Regions from separate parts of the Homo sapiens genome. Here region 2 is linked to region 1. Evidence: promoter capture Hi-C in 16 types of primary human blood cells and fetal thymus (Javierre and others, 2016). All regions are on one chromosome and are shown on one strand. Each heading gives the region's core, a stretch centred on a gene start or on the middle of the fragment in contact. The rest is flanking DNA. Distances are from core to core; before and after follow the strand shown. Region 1 holds the start of SUGP1 (SURP and G-patch domain containing 1). Region 2 holds the start of SLC25A42 (solute carrier family 25 member 42).

Region 1 (3,995 bases), core at 1,496-3,995:
CAAAGTGCTGGGATTTACAGGCATGAGGCACCGTGCCCCAGTGGCTTTTTTTTTTTTTTTTTTTTGAGGCGAACTGTTACTCTGTCAGCCAAGATGGAATGCAGTGGCACCACCTCGGCTCATTGCAACCTCCACCTCCCAGGTTCAAGCGATTCTCCTGCCTCAGCCTCCTGAGTAGCTGGGATTACAGGCGTGAGCCACCACACCTGGCTAATTTTTATATTTTTAGTACAGTTAGGATTTCGCCATGTTGTCCAGGCTGGTCTCGAACTCCCGTCCTCAAGGGAACCTCCAATTTACGCCTCTCAAAGCGCTGGAATTACAGGCGTGAGCCACCGAACCCAGCCTTCTTTTTTTTTTTTTTTTTTTTTGAGATGAAGTATTGCTCTTTTCCCCCAGGCTGGAGTGCAATGGCGCGATCTTGGCTCACTGCAATCTCCACCTCCAGAGTTCCAGCGATTCTCCTGCCTCAGCCTCCCGAGTATCTGGGACTACAGGCATCTGCCGCCATGCCTGGCTAATTTTTTCATATTTTTAGTAGAGATGGGGCTTCACCATGTTGGCCAGGCTGGTCTCGAATTCCTGACCTCAAGTGATCCACCCACCTCAGCCTCCCAAAGTGCTGGGATTACAGGCGTGAGCCACCACACCCAGCCGTTTTTTTTGTTTTGTTTTGTTTTTTTGAGACAGGGTCTCGCTGAGTTGCCCAGGCAGGAGTGCAGTTGCATGATCGTAGCTCACTGCATCCTCAAACTCCTGGGCTCTAGAGATTCTCCCACCTCAGCCACCCGAGTGGCTAGGACTACAGGCACACTCTACCAGGCCTAGCTATTTTCTTTTATTTTTTGTAGAGACAGGTTCTTGCTATGTTCCCCAGGCTAATCTTGAACTCCTGTCCTCAAGGGAGCCTCCCATTTAAGCCTCCCAAAATGCTGAGATTTTAGGCATGGATCACCACACCTAGCCAATATCCACAGGGTCGTTTTATTTTCATCCTGGCTACTAGGTAATCATTCTGGCCAGAGAATCCACAGGCAACAAGACCAGGGAGGCTCACTGGCTCCAAGCAACAGACAATGATGTCTTCAGACTAGGGTGATAGTATGGAGACAGGGAAGACACCTCAGAGGTTCCCCATGGGACTCAGAATAAAATCCAAATTTTAAAAGTCTGAGCCGGGCATGGTGACTCACACCTGTAATCCCAGCACCTGGGAGGCTGAAGCAGGCAGATCACTTGAGGTCAGGAGATCGAGACCAGCCTGGCCAACATGGTGATACCCCGTCTCTACTAAAAATACACAAAAACACTGGCCAGGTGCGGTGGCCGGCGCCTGTAATCCCAGCTACTCAGGAGGCTGAGGCAGAAGAATGGCTTGAACCCGGGAGGTAGAGGTTGCAGTCAGCCGACATCGTGCCACTGCACTCCAGCCTGGGCGACAGAGCGAAACTCCGCTTCAACAAAAAGAAAAAAAGAATTCTAAAAGGCCATTTTCAAGGCCCCGCCAGATGGTTCCCCTCCCTTCTGCTTCATCCTTGACATTCTTCAAAAGGACAAGCCCATCCTACCAGGGCCTCTGCATTTACTGGCCCCCCTCTGTGTGGAAGGCTCCACCCTCCAGGGATTCCCATAGCTGGCATTCATTGTCTTAACTCAAATGTCCTCTGCTTGAAAAGGCCTTTCCCTGGGCCAGGTGTGGTGGCTCACACCTTTACGTAACCCCAGCACTTTAAGAGGCTGAGATGGGAGGATCGCTTGAGCCTAGGAATTCCAGACCTGCATGGGAAACGTGGCAACACAAAAAACACACAAATTCGCTGTGTGGTGGCGCGCATCTGTGGTCTCAGCTACTAGGGAGGCTGAGGTGGGAGGATCACCTGAACCCAGGGAGCCACAGTGAGCCACTGCACTACAGCCTGGGCGACAAAGTGAGACCCTGTCTCAAAAAAAAAAAAAAAAAAAAAAAGAAAGAAAGAAAGAAAAGGTCTTTCCTGACTACCCAATATCAGAAGCCTCCACTCTGATCATATCATACGTAACCTCACATCATACGTAAGTTTTTGTAAATATTTTCTCATTAATGCACTGACACCCCAGTAGAAAGCAACCTCCAGGAAGGCAGGGCCCTGTTTCGGTCACCGCTGCATGCGTAGCGCCCAGCACACTGCTTGGCACACAGTGAGCACGCCCTAAGTATCTGCTGATGGGTAAATGCATTCTATTCTGGGGAAGCAGAAAGGCCAAGGCTTGCAGCAAAGTGAGGGTCAAAAGACGCGGGAAAGTGTGTCAAGGGAGCCTCAAAGCACTTCGGAAAAGCAGCTTTTCCAGAAAGCGGGACACAGGCCAGAGGCCAGCTGCGACGAAAAGAGGGGTGCAGGGACAGCCCAAGGTTGTCGCCGTATTGGGGAACGGAGGTTGGAGCAGCCCTGAAGGCGGTTGTTTCGGAAACGGGACGCAGGGCCGAGCCGGGTGGCGGCCTCTACGGAGATCCGTGCGTCCTCAGCAAACCAAGCGGGGGCGGCCAGCAACCTGGGTCTGGGGTCTCGAGAAACCAAGAGGTGCAGAAGCCGACGCTGTGGGCTGCCCCGGGGCTGAAGCGAGGGATCCACGGGTCGCAGCAGGACGGACCCGAGGAGTCAGGGGAGACACCTAGCCCCAGGGACCCAGGCGGCCGCCTGAGAGGAGGCGGGGGCTGTTACCTGCAACATCCCGGTTGTCCATCTTGAGACTCATCCAATCCCACAATGCTCCGGCGCCCCTTAAGGGGCCCTGTTATAGTGTGCATCGCCTGATGGGAGATGTAGTCCGCCTCGGTCAGACTCGCCCTATTACTGCGTGAACGACTGGGTTTTTTTTTTTTTAACCTCCAGAAACGGAAGCCTCAGCCTATCAGCGATGCCTAAGTCCCAGTCACGATAACCAAACGGCGTCGCCCTTTTACACCTTCCCGGAGCGGCAGTCATCCCAAATACAAACTACATGTTCCAGGATGCTTTGGGCGGCAGATCTCGCGGAAGCCGCGAGGAGAGCCCGGCCCCGTCTCGCGCGCCTGCTTCCGCCTCCCTGTGGCGGCGGCTTGTTGTTGTGGAGGCCAAAATGGCGGCTCAGGCGGCGGCAGCGGCCCAGGCGGCGGCGGCCCAGGCTGCGCAGGCCGAGGCGGCCGACTCGTGGTACCTGGCGCTTCTGGGCTTCGCTGAGCACTTCCGCACTTCCAGCCCGCCCAAAATCCGCCTGTGCGTGCACTGCCTGCAGGCCGTGTTCCCCTTCAAGCCGCCGCAGCGCATCGAGGCCCGTACACACCTGCAGCTGGGCTCCGTTCTCTATCACCACACCAAGAACAGCGAGCAGGCGCGCAGCCACCTGGAGAAGGCGGTGAGCGCGGGCCGGGCCGCGAGGGAGGAGTCGCGGGCTCCTTGCAAGATCTGGGCTGACGGGTCGCGACCGCGGCGGGTGGGGGGCCGCTCCTCGGCGACCTGGGGGCGCGACCTCCGTCAAAGCCGCAGGACCCCCACCCGCCTCTGCCGGACCCCAAAGCCACCAGCCTCTCAAGGGACACGAAAGCCTCGCCCCCCACGCCTTATTTCCCGTTTCTGGTGACAGGGCTCCAGGAGCCCCGTCACCGTACTCTGAAAGTTGCCTGTTATTGGGAGCAACAGGATCCGCAAATCGTCTGGTTTTCAGGAGGATCCCACCTGTTGGTGGCGATGGGGACATCACAGGGTCCTGAAGCTATTAGCTCCTCCTGGTTCAGCTTCCGGAGCATCAGCCCCAAACGCTTCCACCTAAAGTGACTTGGGGTAGGGGTTGGCGAAGGCGAGACCCCTGGCATTCTCCCGGGAATCTGAAGTCTGGTCTCTCAGGAACCTGGAAGGGCATGATTCTCCTTGGACACAGAAGTTTGGTAATCGTGGTTTTTGGAGGGTCTTGTGCCCCCATCAATAATGCCTGGTGTCGTACGAGGGAAGCTGAGACCCGGAGTCTGGAGTTGGTCATTT
Region 2 (3,728 bases), core at 687-3,186, 260 kb before region 1:
GGATTCAAACTCAGCCCTGGGTCCTTCCACCAAGGAATATTCTCCACCATAGGCTCAGTTTTCTTATCTGCTAAGTGGGCACTGTCACGTCCACCTGGAAGTGAGGTGGGGAGATGGTATTGGAGAAAGCCCAGTGGGGACCTGGCACCCAATTGATGTTCAACTGACCTCAGCTTCCCCCTCTTCTCTGGAGGGCAGAATGGAGGCCAGATCCTGGAAGTTGCCAGGAAGCAAACCACAGGTGGGAGGTATGGGAGAGGAGGTCCAGGTAGGCATATCGTGAGAATATCAGGAGTTTGATGATGGCCTTGGGCTAGTGATTTCCCGTCACATCCTCCCCATTTGAAACTTGTGGATCACACACTTAGCAGGGGCTTGTGCAGCCCTGAAATGTGAGCCCTTTCTAAGGTTGGTTTCAGCCTTGCTCCCTCCCAGGATTCCCTGGTTCTGAACTTGATCTCCACCAACCCTGGCCAGCACCTAGAGGAAATAAGAGCTGGTATCTGGAAACATTTGTAGCCCTCTCCATCCTGAAGATGAAGGGTGAGTCATAGAACAGAGTGGCTTCGGGGGAGGTGCCGATGACACAGCCATGCCTGGGATGGCAGGTGTCTCCCTAAACTGCCGGCATTTTTCTGCACTTCACAGAGGAGCTGAGGCTCACAGGCCGCACATGACCTGCTCAGGGTCAAATGCTTTCACCAGATAATTAAAATGAGAGCTGAGTTGTAAATTTTCCCAGGGAAGCAACCCCAGAGAGGAAAGATCAAGGCATAGGAATCATTTTCCCCCCTCTTTTCCAAATGAAACAGCTGAGGCTCACAAGGGCTTTTGCCCAAGGTTGTGTGGTGGGCCAGTGATTGGACAAGGATTCAAACCCAGGTCTCTGAGGCCCCCAGTGGCTCTTCTCTGACACACTCTTTCCAAAAAGCAGGCTGCTCTAGATTCATTCTCTGGTTTAGCAACCAGAGAATGCTGTGTAACCTTGGGCAAGGAGCTTGACCTCTCTGTGCTCTGGTTTCTGTAAAAGGAGCCAGTGGTCTCTCTGACCTCATGGGATTGTGGTTAAGATTCAGTTAATTCAAAAAAAGACTTGGCAGGGAGAAGGCCCAACAGGGATGTCACTGGATACCGTGGCGGGGAAAGCTGGGACGCAGAGAGGTCAGACACTCAGAAAACCACGCAGCGCGTTTCAGTAGGATTCCGCCCCTTATTTCCATGTCTTCACACCACCTCGAGATGGAGAGGGCAGTTCAGAGTGACCTCCAGCGAATCTGCCCTCTCCGTGTCGTCTGCAGGGGATTAGTGGGGAGTAAGGGGATAGAGAATTATCCAGGAGTCCTTCAGCCTTGATGGTCCAAGTTCACATCCGCTTCTGTGCTAGGTGGCCAGAGGGCGGGCTCTACACGAGAGCCTCAGGGGACCCTGCGCCAGGCGTCCGAGGCCACGTCGGGTTGCCGCGCTCCGGGTCGGACTGCACCTTGAACGCTCCAGCCCTCCCCTGGGGGCGTACCGCCCACGGCCGCTGCGACTGGCCGCGGGGCCTGCCAGTCTTCGGCTTTGCGGCCAATCCCGGTCTCCCCCCAAGCTACGCCCTCCGTTCCTCTCGCCTCTGCCCCACCGGTAGCGCCAGTTTCTTCGTAGCCCCGCCCCTGGCCCCCAGCGATTGGCCGACAGTTCTGCCTGTTTTCTGCCAAGATTCCAATCCTCGCCTGCCTCCAGGCCCTCGCCTCCCAGCGCCTAGCACCCTGAGGGACCACTCAGGCACCCCAGGCCTCTCCCAATAGCCCCACCTCTGCCAATCAGCGATTGGCTTTAGGGGCTGCCCATCTGCTTCATACTCGCCAATCACTGTCGCTTCCAGCGCTGACTGGCCAGGGAGCAGCCAATCGGGGCGTGGCGTGGACCCCTCCCGTGGCGCGCTCTGGGGGTGCGCGAGGCGGGGCCGTGGCGGCTGGAGGTAGCGGCGGCGGCGACGCGTCCGGGCCGGTGAGGGGGCGCGGGGGGCGCCGGGGGGGCCCAAGCGTCAGCGGCCCGCGCCTGTCGGGCTGAACTGAGGTGAGGCACGGGTCCTGTCATGGATCCCGGGGCGAGGGGCGGATGAGGCGGGGCATGACAGTAGCGTCGCGAGGGCAGGAAGAGGTTAAAGACCCCCCCCAACCCCACACTCCACGTCTACTGCCCCCTGGGGGCTACTGCATCCAGGTTTGAGCCCGTCACCCGCAGTCCACGCACGCCTGACACCACGTCCCTTTTCGTTGACATCCCCCATACACTTTAGACTGTCCTTGCTGACATCTCCCACACCCCTGGGGCCTTGTCCCCGGCGCCCCGCACAGCTGGGTCTGACATCCCCCTCACACACCTGACACCGCGCCCCCACTCACGAACACCCGCCCCCACTCACGAACACCCCCCACATCACCTGAGTCTGTCCTTGTCGATGACACCCCCACACCCACACCTGAGCCTGTGACTCCTAACTCATGGCCTCGCAACTCACACCTGGACCTAGTCCCGTCCCCCACTGCCTTTCCTCATATCCAGGTATCTGCTCGCTACTCTCGTGCCCACTCCCCCAGCAACCTGTGTCTCTCTTCTCAGGGACCTTCCCCCTGGCACCTGCCCTCTGCCCTGGCAGCCCCACACCTCTGTCTCCCCCTTTTCTCTCTCCCACCTTGGGCTTTCTTCCACGTGCACCTGTGTTCGCACACCCTCTGTAATAATCCCCCCGAATCCCCCAGGTCCTCCAATAGTCCCCCAAGCCTTGGTATCTCAGGATCGCTGCACCCTCCCCTCCCCAAACAAAAGCTTACCCCAGTGTTCATTTCTAACAGTGCTTGACAGTCTATAAAGTGATTTCCGGACCTTAGAATAATCCCATCTGTCAGACCAAACCGGAATCATCTCCATTTTACCAGCCACAGACCTAAACCACTTGAATGCTAGAGGCAGAGCCTATTCTACCCTGGGCATCGCTGACCCTCTGCTGTGGACCCACCGCGTTTGGGCCCATCTGTTATGTTTATCTCAGAGGGATTGGCAGGAGTCGTGACTTTGACTGGGTCCGGAAAGGCTTAGCTGGAAGGGACGGCCCCTCTGCCAAGCGTGTGTCTCGGAGTCCTGGGGCAGGCTGGCGGTGGAGACGCTGCCGGAGGAGGGGGGCTCATCATCTTGGGTGCCTCCTGCAGGATGCCGGAGAGGGGGTTGCCGGGGCCGGGGCTCCCAGCTCTTGCAGACCCGGGACCCCTCTCCGACACTCCCTGGGCCCTTGAAGCCGATAAAGAGTAAGGAAACACTCTTTAGAGTGAGGCAAACTAATGTTTCAGCTGTTTAAAGCTAACCTGCAAAACGAGCCTGGGTGGTGCTAGGAATGATTCTTCTGGAATTTTTTAGTTCCCTTGAGTCTGATTTGCAAGCATGCAGCATAGAAGGAGGACAGTGGCTTTGTTGTTGAAAAGCAATAACGTGCCATTTCCTGTAAGGCTCCTGGAGCGTTTCTTACCCCCTCCCACCGCTCCCTGCAAAGACGGTACCAGAATGTTTCAGAGGGTCATGTCACCTTCAGCTTCTCCTGTGGAAACTGAAGCCATTTGGGTTTTCTGTCCAACTTCAATAGGAGTCATTTAAAACATATATGGGCATGTATGTATATATGTATGTATATGTGTGTGTGTTGTACACATATGTACATGTACCTATAATATTCATATGTTTATATACATATT

What was found. Contacts are between HindIII fragments. The CHiCAGO score rates a contact against its expected background, and 5 or more counts as called.
Region 2: a contact is called between the fragment with the promoter of SLC25A42 here and the fragment with the promoter of SUGP1 in region 1, in 1 of 17 cell types (M1 macrophages). The highest score is 5.4, in M1 macrophages.

Annotation. Positions count from the first base shown.
Region 1 is chr19:19,317,764-19,321,758 of GRCh38, forward strand. It overlaps SUGP1 (SURP and G-patch domain containing 1), which reads right to left and starts at 2,746. Exons shown (of 14, transcript NM_172231.4): 1 at 2,700-2,746. The coding sequence starts at 2,733. It overlaps MAU2 (MAU2 sister chromatid cohesion factor), which reads left to right and starts at 3,066. Exons shown (of 19, transcript NM_015329.4): 1 at 3,066-3,372. The coding sequence starts at 3,097. RefSeq lists enhancers at 2,614-2,663, 2,684-3,173, 2,882-3,853 and a silencer at 3,225-3,446. The HindIII fragment of the contact is 18,112 bases long and covers 1-3,995 here.
Region 2 is chr19:19,062,058-19,065,785 of GRCh38, forward strand. It overlaps SLC25A42 (solute carrier family 25 member 42), which reads left to right and starts at 1,937. Exons shown (of 8, transcript NM_178526.5): 1 at 1,937-2,058. It overlaps LOC124904655 (a long non-coding RNA gene), which reads right to left and starts at 1,468. Exons shown (of 3, transcript XR_007067160.1): 1 at 1,133-1,468; 2 at 1-94. RefSeq lists silencers at 1,409-1,578, 1,839-2,108. The HindIII fragment of the contact is 7,903 bases long and covers 1-2,809 here.